Regions from separate parts of the Homo sapiens genome. Here regions 1 and 3 are each linked to region 2. The links are contacts of gene promoters, found by promoter capture Hi-C in human tissues and cell types (Jung and others, 2019). All regions are on one chromosome and are shown on one strand. Each heading gives the region's core, a stretch centred on a gene start or on the middle of the fragment in contact. The rest is flanking DNA. Distances are from core to core; before and after follow the strand shown.

Region 1 (3,592 bases), core at 399-2,898, 51 kb before region 2:
ACTAGCATCCTGGGGCTTGGGAAGGAGGTCAGCCCTATTTTTCACAAGCCTACCTCCAACTGTGAGTTTTATTAGTAACCCAAAATATTATATGTGATTACCTGTGGGCCTTTGACAACAAGAGAGGGAAAGGTAACCTCATTAAGTCCTCTATCTTTAAATGTTTGAAAAATGTGACCCACTCAGAGGGATCTCAAATTCTGCTTCATTGAATAAGATGAATCTTGGCACGTAAAAAACACTTAAATCGCTTGACAAAGTTTTGCTTATTTGCTGTTGAACTATATATATTTTTAACAGCCAAGTAAAACCCCAAAGTGGTAATTGCCTTAAATCACCTTCATGAAAATGGGGAAAGAATCTTTCTAGTCTGAGTGAGGCTCTGCTCCTGGGGTTGAGGAAGATTTGAGGCTTTGCTTGAATAATTTTACCAAGTCTACTTGAAGTGGAAGATTTAAAAATTTCAGCAATTGTTAGTTTATTGGCATCATTAGATGAAACCCATTCAGCTGTTTGTTAGACGTTAGCTGACTTGTTCCCTGCTCTAAAATCTGTCAGGTGAGGCAGGCAACATTCTCCACTTGGTACTTTACCAGGGTGGAGGCTTTGGTTGATGGCCCCCAGCAGGCTGGCTGTCTTGGAGGAGAGACCTCCAGAGTAGAGGCATGGGGTGCAATGCAGGCCACTGCCCCATACTGAGGATTGACCAGGTCGATGGTGGCCTGAGTCCAGATCACATCAAGTGATCCCCCTGCCCAGAATTTCAAGGCTGCAATGAGCTACAGTCATCCCACTGCACTCCAGCCTGAGCAACAAAGTGAGACCATGACTCTGAAAAAAAAAAAAAGCTTTTGATGGGGCTTTGCCTTTACTTTTTCTCTGGGAAATACTTGAACAGTGACCCAAACTAATTCTTAAGAATTTGGAAAAGATCAGGAAATAGAAAGGAAGTTCATATTGATTGGTTTTCTACTGTTTTAAGCATTATATGTGCCATGTGCCAGTTTTTTCACATTTATTATCTAATTTTACTCTTCAAAACCATGTTATTGTTACCACTTTTCAGATAAAGAAAGTACAGCTTCAAAAATCTAAGCCATTTGTCCGATGCAGAACAGCATTTGACAACTATGGAGGTGACTCTGATGACCTGGCTCTACCTCAGCATGGGGCCCTGTGTCATTGATAAGTGTGGTATTAGCCGCCTGATTCGCTAACCCACAGTTCAGAGCAGGGGTGGGCCAGGCAGATATTAGAACAGAAATGAGGACCAAGACTTGCTTAAATAAGCAGGCAGCAAGCTCGGTGAGCAGACAGGATCCAGGTGACGCGGTGCAGTAATGTGGGGTTGTGGTCAGCACCATGGACAGCTCCCCTGTTGCTTCATATTGAGGAATAGGAAAGCGCCGCTATCTCCGGATCCTGGCTAGCTCCAGCCACTGCAGGTAACTGTCTTGAATGGGCTTAGAAACATGGTGATGTCTGCAGCGAAGGGCTGGCAGTGGATGTGGGCTCTGCCTGGGCGATTCGGGTCTCTGCGGGCTGGTGATGGAGATGTTCTTTCAGGTCTCTGTGCTTTTTCTCACTAGTGTCCACTTTGTCCAGGGCCTAGATCGCCCCTGGGCTCAGGCAGAGATCCAACTGAGAGCCCCTTCGCCAAGATCTTAGCACACATAGTGTCAGGAGCTCCTGAAAAATGTTTAACATTGATAGAAAAAGTGGGATGAGTAACAAAAGAATCTTTAAATTCCCCAAATGGAAAAATGTCATCTGGCTACAGATCTTTAAACAATATTTCTAAATCTCTGCTTCAAATACTCGCAAAGCCTGGAAAAGAAACAACCCGTCACAACAATATTGAGAACTAAGATTGATGTTATGTGAGGTAAGGCCAAAATCTGCCAGTATTTGTAAGGGATATGAAGCTTAAACAGCAAAACCTAACCAGGCTTTGTCCAGCTTTGTCCAGCAGAAAAGCAAATCTCTGGCATTTCCCAGGCTCACCTGGAAAGAGGTTGGTGGCTCACTGTGCAGCCCTGGGTTGCTCATTTCCAGGAAGTTTCCCATCCTCTTCCACTTTCCTCCCAGAATACAGAACTAGGGAAGAAACCCTTACATCAAGCAGAATTGATGCACATTTATCCCTGATGATGTGTTAAAACATTTGCAGGCATCTGTGCCCCATGCATTTTTTTTTGCAGTAGCTCCATGAAGACACATTTAGAGCATATATAAGAGTTCTTCAGTTGCATAACAACATGAATGTACTTAATGCCACAGAACCTGAAAATGTACACTTAATAATAGTTAAGATTGTGCTATGGTCTGAATGATTGTGTCTCCCCCAAACTAGACTGTTGAAACCTAATGACCAACGTGATGGTATTAGGAGGTGGGGCCTCTGGGGGGTCCCTCATGAGTGGGATTAGTGCCCTTATAAAAGAGGCCCCAGAGTGCCATCCATGAACCAGGAAGAAAGACCTCCTCAGACTCCAGATTCACTGACATCTTGATTTTTGACTTCCCAGCCTCTAGAACTGTGTGAAATAATTTTTTTTTCTAGATGAAGTCTTGCTATTGTTCCCCAGACTGGGAACAATACCATTGCACAATGGTATGATCTCCACTCACTGCAACCTCTGCCTCCTGGGTTCAAGCAATTCTCCTGCCTCAGCCTCCTGAGTAGCTGGGATTACAGGGGTGCGCCACCACACCTGGCTAATTTTTGTATTTTTAATAGAGATGGGGTTTCACCATGTTGTCCAGGCTAGTCTCAAACTCCTGACCTCAGGTGATCCACCTGCCTTGGCCTCCCAAAGTGTTGGAATTACAGGTGTGAGCCACCATGCCCGGCCAACTTCTGTTGTTTTTAAGCCACCTAGTTCATGACGTCTTGTTACAGAAGGCTGAACAGACTAAGACAGTGGTAAATTTTATGTTGTGTATATTTGATCACAATTTAAAACTACAAAAATTTTAAATAAAAGCAAAAAAAAAAAGGAGTCCTTCAATTAGTTATTGCTGTGTAACAAGCCACCGCAAATTTTCGTGGCTTAAAATAGCAACCATTTTATTGTTTGTGATTCTATGTTTGTGCAAGACTTGTGGGGAAGGTTCCTCTCTCCTGCACTTGGTACCAATAGGGCAGCTCACCTGCCACCAGAGAATCCAAGGTGACCTCACTTGCATGTGTAGGGCTTGTCTGGCTCTCGGACAGAAGGCTGTGGTTCTTTTTCATGTGGTCTCTCTCTATTCATGGACTCTCATCACTCAGCAGTCTAACCTGAACTTTTTTATACAAAAATTGGCTTTAAGAGGGCAAAAGTAGAAGCTGCCAGTCCTCTTAAAGTGTAGGACCTTGACTGGCATATTGTCACTCCTTCTACATCCTTTTAGTCAAAGCAAGTTACAAGAGCTGAAACTCAAGGTGAGAAGCAGGAAAGACTACAACCTTTGCTGGGAGGAGTCGCGCACCTGGAGGGGAGGAATTGTTGGTGGCAATTTTTTTTTTTTTTTTTTTTTTGAGACGGAGTTTTACTCTTGTTTCCCAGGCCAGAGTGCAATGGTGCATCTCAGCTCACTGCAACCACCG
Region 2 (3,839 bases), core at 1,020-3,519:
CTGTCACTGAAGCAGAGATGGAGAGAGATGCCCATAATGGGCCCTTTTGAGCTGGTGTGAGCTGGCTTCAGAACTCCACTGTCTGCAGCTGTCAGTCACTCAGATAACTGTCAATGAGTGTCATCTGTGGACACACAGAGAAGAGAGGGAATCTTGTTTCTGCCCTCCTGACACCTCATTTCATGAGCATTTAATAAAGTTTGGATGTTTGTCCCCTCCAAATCTCATGTTGAAACATAATCCCCAATGTTGGAGGTGGGCCCTGGTGGGAGGCGAAGGCGATTGGATAATGGGGGCAGAGCCCTCATGAATGGGTTGGCACCATCCTGAATGACTTCTCAGTCCATGAGAGATATGGTGTTTAAAAGCCTGGGACCTCCCCCTTCTCTTTCTGGCTTTCACTCTTGCCATGTGACATGCCTGCTCCCACTTTGCCTTTTGCCATGATTAGAAGCTTCCTGAGGCCCTCATCAGAAGCTGAGCAGATGTTGGAGCCATGATTGCATACCTTGCAGAATCATGAGCCAATTCAACCTCTTTTCTTCATCAATTACCCAATCTCAGGTATTCCTTTACAGCAAAGAAAAATGGCACAATACAGCATCTACAATGTGCTTGGTACTATGTGAAGGAGATAATTAAGTATAATGAGGTCTCTACCTTCAGGGCGTAGAGTCCACCACGTCCTTGCTTGGCTTACTTTATCTAGTGGCTTGAGGCCCAGGAATGTCCAGTCACCACTGGCCACACCAGGAGGCTCCAGAACAGGGCTTTCTATGTCCAGGACAGGGATCTGAGGTTGCTGACATGGTGCAGGGGGTCACTGCAGGGCAGCATCTCACAGAGTTGAAGGGGGCTGCAGGGGTTCTGAGAGCTGCCCCTGCCTGTCCATCCCCACCCCTTCCCCACAGAGTCTTGGTTGAGAACCGAAGGGCCACAGTCCCTGCACACTTTGCTGAGGGGAGGCAGGGGTCCCCTGTGTCCAGGGTCTCTGTTGCTTGGACCATGCCTGCCAGCTGACACCCTCCCCATTTTCTGAAGAGTTCTGGCACCTTATATCAGGCAGGTCCCTCATAAACTAGAATGTGCTGCCTCACCAGTCTCAGGGCAGAGGGGTGTGTGGCTTCAGGGCTACAGGAGGCAGCTGCTGGAACTTGGAGCAGGACAACAGAGTATCCACCATACTAGGGTTAGCTGTCTAGGCTGGTTGTGGACAGCCTGGCTTGCCCAGGTGGGAGCAGTCAGGGTCAGCAAAGGCATCTCCCAGCTGGAGAGATGCCCAGGGGATGTTACAGAGAGCCTCGGGGTCCCTGCAGCAGGCTTAGGATTCAGCCGAAGCTCTGGCTGTAGGGCGAGGGAAAGAAGGCACTGAGAATCGAGTAACCTCAGTCATGCAGCAGCTGTTCTTGGGACAGACAGGCTGGGACACTCACGTCAAGGTCTGCCAGGATAGCATGCAGGCGGGGACAGGTGGCACTGGGGCGTGAAGGTGTCCAGGCATCCCTTCCTTTTCTCAGAGAGATTTCCTTGACTCAGCCTGTCTTTGACACACACGGGGGGATGGAGGATGTTGGGGGAAGGGAGCCACAGTGAGCCAATCACCCTGCACCGGAGCCTTCGGGGCTGGTTCCCTCCGAGCCTGTAAGTGTGAGTGTGTGTGCGCGAGTGTGTCTGTGTGTGCACCAGTGGGGATTTCTGTGATAGAAGCAGCCAGATTCCAGAGACAGAGAGAAGAGGAGGGGGAAGAACAAGAGAGGGGAGAAAATTGGGGGTGGGAGAGACAGACGGAGAGAACAGCGCGGGGGGCGGGGAGAGGGAGAGAGGTGGAGGGGAGAGCAGAGAGAGAGAGAGCGAGCCAGAGAGCAGAGAGGGAGGAAGAGAGAAAGCAAGAGAGCGGGAGGGTGCGCGGAGCGGAGCGGAGACAGAGCTCGCGGGCATGGGGTGAGAGCGGGAGGAAGCAGAGGCAGAGGCGGAGCAGGGGCGCAGGTGCCTGCAACCCAGGATCCCGGGGCGCTAAAGGCTTCGGGTTCTACCGCACGCTCAGTCGCTGGCTCCAGAGGTGCTGCTGGGGGCCAGGGTTCACTGCCGCGCGCCAGGTGCCTGCCCGTGAGGCGGCGCGGGGCTCCCGGGTGGCTGCGCGCCCAGACGCCTGCCCGGGAGGCCGCCTGAGGCTCCGGGGTGGCCGCGCGCCCTCCTGGGAGCCATGGCGGCTGGGGCCGGTGGTCGCCGGGCGGCGGCGGCGCCGAGGGGCTGAGCCGGCCGCGGGCAGCGCCATGGCGGCGCCGGGTTGCGGACCCTGAGCGCCGGCGCGGGGCGCGCACCATGAACTCGTGGGACGCGGGCCTGGCGGGGCTACTGGTGGGCACGATGGGCGTCTCGCTGCTGTCCAACGCGCTGGTGCTGCTCTGCCTGCTGCACAGCGCGGACATCCGCCGCCAGGCGCCGGCGCTCTTCACCCTGAACCTCACGTGCGGGAACCTGCTGTGCACCGTGGTCAACATGCCGCTCACGCTGGCCGGCGTCGTGGCGCAGCGGCAGCCGGCGGGCGACCGCCTGTGCCGCCTGGCTGCCTTCCTCGACACCTTCCTGGCTGCCAACTCCATGCTCAGCATGGCCGCGCTCAGCATCGACCGCTGGGTGGCCGTGGTCTTCCCGCTGAGCTACCGGGCCAAGATGCGCCTCCGCGACGCGGCGCTCATGGTGGCCTACACGTGGCTGCACGCGCTCACCTTCCCAGCCGCCGCGCTCGCCCTGTCCTGGCTCGGCTTCCACCAGCTGTACGCCTCGTGCACGCTGTGCAGCCGGCGGCCAGACGAGCGCCTGCGCTTCGCCGTCTTCACTGGCGCCTTCCACGCTCTCAGCTTCCTGCTCTCCTTCGTCGTGCTCTGCTGCACGTACCTCAAGGTGCTCAAGGTGGCCCGCTTCCATTGCAAGCGCATCGACGTGATCACCATGCAGACGCTGGTGCTGCTGGTGGACCTGCACCCCAGGTGAGCCGAGCGCAGCTAAGGCTCTGGGAACAGCCGCGCGGGATCTCGGCGGGAGTGGGAGGTCCCTAGCCCCAGGGGCTCTTTTCCACCGAGCCTCTGTTTCTTCTGAGAACTCGAGGGTGGGGAAAGCGGCCCAGCTGTGGGGCTTAAGGAGGTGCTTAGGGTATCAGCAAACCAGGGCCACAAAAAATGCGGGTGAGCCCATCTATACATCGGTTTTTGAAGCATCAGGGTAGAAATCACAGACAGTCAGAACTCTGTTGGGCTTCTTCATGCACATTTTCTGTGTTTGTAGCTTTCACTTTAAATGGCACATGGGAAGTCCGTGGTCTTTGTTCCCTATTAAAGACCTTCAAAGTGTTTGATTCTGGCCGAGAGGGCGGCCTCGATGCTTAGGGAGCTCCTTAAGAGCTTTTCAGACCCAAGTGTGTCGCTTCTCTGAGTCTTTCCCTTCTCGGGTGTGTGGCGCTGCCTCTGTCTCACGACTGTGTGTGTGTGTGTGTGTGTGTGTGTGTGTGTGTGTGTGAATTCTGATGGACTCGGGCTGCGTCCTTCTCTGTGGTGGGCCCTGAGGGGTGGGGTGGGGGGCTCTTCCTGCCCTCCCCAGAGAGCACTGTCCAATGTCTGCCTGACTTGGTGCCTAGAGGCTCCTGCAGAAGGAGTGTGCCCCAAGGCTCCTGGGGCTGAATCTGCCCCCACCTCCGTCGTCACGCTGGCTGCTGTTCTCAGGAGGGCAGATGGAGCTGGGCAAGCATGGGTACCCTCTGGGAACCCCTGCCATCGCAGGAGCCTGTCAGGGAGAGAAGGAGGGAACTCTTAGCTGCGCTGTCCTGAGCTCACCTCAGCTTT
Region 3 (3,346 bases), core at 611-3,110, 47 kb after region 2:
CAATCATGAATGTGACACTCAAAAGTAGTATTAGCAGTGCCTATGACTTTGTCACTAATAATAATCATAGATATTTTAATATCACATTACAGTTGCAGAATTCTAAAAATAGCATTTCTGCTCATCACTTCAAAATTACAGCAATATGAGTTGGTTGTCAGATCTTGTGTTGAATGCATTAATAATGAAGCACACATATTAATATATGACACATTCGTTTACTAAAATATTCTTGTAATTGCACTTTAAGGTAGTGGGTTTCCTTTCTAATCCTATATACATTGTTTTGTGCATTGTAAAATATGTTTTTGAGGAATCCATGACAGAGAAGAGATTCCGAACCTCTGCACTGGGTCAATGGTTTTCAAACTGCAAGAATAATCTGAGCAGTCATGGGTCATAAAATCAACTAGCAGGTTGTGACAGCCCTTTTAATTTAGGAAAAAACATGAATAAAATAGAAAACATCAGAGTACGTCATGTACTAAAGATACATCAAATCTTTATCATTGTGTGGTAAGTGTGTACCAGTTGAAATGTTTAAAAATCATGAGCCTAGACAGCAAGGGTTGTAAAGACAGGAATCATGTCTATATTTTGCTCATCATTGCCTATCTCTGTAGTACTTAGAACAGTGCTTGAAGGTAGTATGTGTATTTGACTTCTCCAGAAAGATAGAATCAATAGAAAATATAGACATATGAGAGGAGATTTATCAGGAGAATTGGCTCAGGCGATTATGGAGAGGTCCCACAATAGACCATCTGCAAGCTGGAGACCCATGGATGCCACTAGTGTGGCTCAGTCCAAGTTCGAAGGCCTCAGAACCAGGAAAGCTGATGGTGTCACTCTCAGTTCATGGACAAAAGCCTGAGAACCCAGGGAGGGCTGGTGTAAGTCCTGGAGCCCAAAGGCCGAGGAGCCCAGAGTTCTGATGTCCAACGGCAGGAGAAGAAGGGTTTCCCAGCCCCAGGAGAGAGAGAGAGAGAAAGAATCCACCATTCCTCTGCCTTTTTTTCTTTCCGGGCCTCCAGATGACTGGATGGTGCCTACCCACATTGACGGTTGATCTTCCCCACTCAATCCACTGACTCACACACCAATCTCCTCTGGAAACACTCTCACAGATCCACCTAAAATTAATGCTTTACCAGTTCTCTAGGTATGCCTTAATCCAAACAAGTTGACACCTAAAATTAACCATCGTGATCGGTGCTCAAATATCTGTAGACTAGAGAAATGAAAAACCAAAGGGTAATACCCATATGTTACATTTCTCCATCAAAAATGGTTATAAAGCCATTCAAGAAAGATTCTTTGAGTACTTACTGTGGGCTGGGGGATGCGCCTGGCAATAGAATTTCAATAGCGAAGAGTCTCAGTTTATCCTCATGAAGCTTTCAGTCTAGCAGAATAAACAACTTCATTCAGTTTGGGCCAAAAAACAACAACAACTACAACAACAACAACAGAAACCACCAAAACTGTGAGTCTAAGGTGTTAAACACATATTTTCTGGGTACATTCTGTTTACAAAGACACTGAGGGGGGCTTGAAGATGCAGGTCATGTGGCCTTTTATGTGGAGGAGCCCATGGACCCTGATGAGAGAGCAACCAGGTTCCCATGCGGCCAAAATGCAAGGCAGAGAAAGCCAAGGGTCACAGAGGAAGTCCAGCAAGAAGCAGCACTCAGCAGCTACCAGAGAAATTCCAACAAGCACATATCTTAGGACAATCATCACCCTCTTGTACAATATGAGAATTGCTGACTGTTTTAACAGCAGTCATCCCCTCCTGGCTCAGATGCTACTGTCATCTGGCTGTCCAGCTCCATCTTTCCCTTTTTAGTCCAAATATTAAACATTTCTTACTTTTTGTACATTCAAAATATCTACACTTGTCTAGACATTTTGTATTTCATTAACTCATTTCTTTTTATACCTCATACCTTCTTCCTGGGGTTAGTTCCCTTCTTCTTGAAATATATTCACTAGAAGTTCCTCAGTGGGGATATTTTGGTGGTAACAGGGTCAGGACTAGAGTGAGGCACCTGGGAGGTAAAATTAAAGTAAATGTGTCTGTATTAGTCTGTTCTCATGCTGCTGATAAAGACATACCCAAGACTGGGTAATTTATAAAGGAAAGAGGTTTAATTGACTCACAGTTCCATATGGCTGGGGAGGCCTCACAATCATGGTGGAAGATGAAGAAAGAGCAAAAGCACATCTCACACGGCGGCAGGCAAGAGAAAGCTTCTGCAGGGAAACTCTGCCTGATAAAACCATCAGATCATGAGACTTATTCACTAACACAAGAGCAGCATGGGAAAGATCTGTCCCCATGATTCAAACACCTCCCACTGGGTCCCTCCCATGACACATGGGAATTGTGGGAGCTACAATTCAAGATGGGATTTGGGTGGGGACACAGTCAAACCATATCAGTGTTAACCCTCACTCTCAGGCACTAACCCTGAACTTCACATCACTGAGAATGAGTCCTTCTCAAATTTTATGTTCCTGGCACCTCACTTGCCTCACCTAGTTCCAGCCCTGGGTGGTAAATGTTCTGTTTTTATCTAAATGTAGGTAATTCACTCTTATTCTTGAAAGCCAGTTTCACTGGCTGTACAAGGTTAACGTTCTTTTATTTATCCAAAGATGTTTTTCCACCATCTTCTGGTTTCCAAAGATGATGGAATAATATTTTTGCTGCTATTGAGAAATCTGCTCCCAGTATAACCATTTTTTTCTTTTGTTAGTAATTTGTCTCTTCTTTCAGGCTGCTTTAAGCCATTCTATTTGTCTTTGGTGTTGAGGTTTAACTGTCACACATCTAGAAGTGGATTCTTTTTAGCAGACCAGCTTAAAGGATTTAGGAAGTCAGATTTTTTTCCTCCCATTATTTGCAGAAAATGTTCAGCAGTAATCTCACTGAGTATCATTTTTTCCCCACTCTTGCCACGATCTCCTTTGAACTTCAAAACCTATCTATTGACTAGCCTTACTTTACCTTCTACACATCTTAATTTCTCCTTTATATATTTTTTTATCTCTTTTTGTCCCTCTGATGGTTTCTGGGTAAATCCTTCAGATCTATCCTCCATTTCACAGTGATCTCTTCTGCTATGTCAATTCTGATCTTAAACTTCTCCATTACGATCTTAATTCCTATAATTATATTTTCAATTTTCAAAACTTACTCTTGCTTCTGGTCATTTTTTATAGTCTCTTGTACCTTACTTATGTTAACAGTGCCTTCTGTATATACTTACTGTATATTTGGAATTCATACTTTCATTATTAAGTGTCATCGTAGCTCTGTTCTGTTATATGTTGTTTGGTC

What was found. Contacts are between HindIII fragments. The study calls those that stand out against the background at their distance.
Region 1: a contact is called between a fragment that was not itself captured here and the fragment with the promoter of GPR26 in region 2, in 2 of the 25 tissues and cell types used here (H1 embryonic stem cells and mesendoderm cells).
Region 3: a contact is called between a fragment that was not itself captured here and the fragment with the promoter of GPR26 in region 2, in 2 of the 25 tissues and cell types used here (adrenal gland and mesendoderm cells).

Annotation. Positions count from the first base shown.
Region 1 is chr10:123,613,735-123,617,326 of GRCh38, forward strand. No RefSeq gene overlaps it. Among named protein-coding and RNA genes, the nearest start is that of GPR26, 51 kb to the right of the region's middle. The HindIII fragment of the contact is 3,152 bases long and covers 73-3,224 here.
Region 2 is chr10:123,664,086-123,667,924 of GRCh38, forward strand. It overlaps GPR26 (G protein-coupled receptor 26), which reads left to right and starts at 2,270. Exons shown (of 3, transcript NM_153442.4): 1 at 2,270-2,990. The coding sequence starts at 2,323. RefSeq lists enhancers at 1,478-2,015, 2,016-2,554, 2,555-3,092. The HindIII fragment of the contact is 11,073 bases long and covers 1-3,839 here.
Region 3 is chr10:123,711,285-123,714,630 of GRCh38, forward strand. It overlaps LOC105378532 (a long non-coding RNA gene), which reads right to left and starts at 2,203. Exons shown (of 5, transcript XR_946421.4): 1 at 2,164-2,203; 2 at 1,950-2,051; 3 at 1,330-1,405. The HindIII fragment of the contact is 3,748 bases long and covers 1-3,346 here.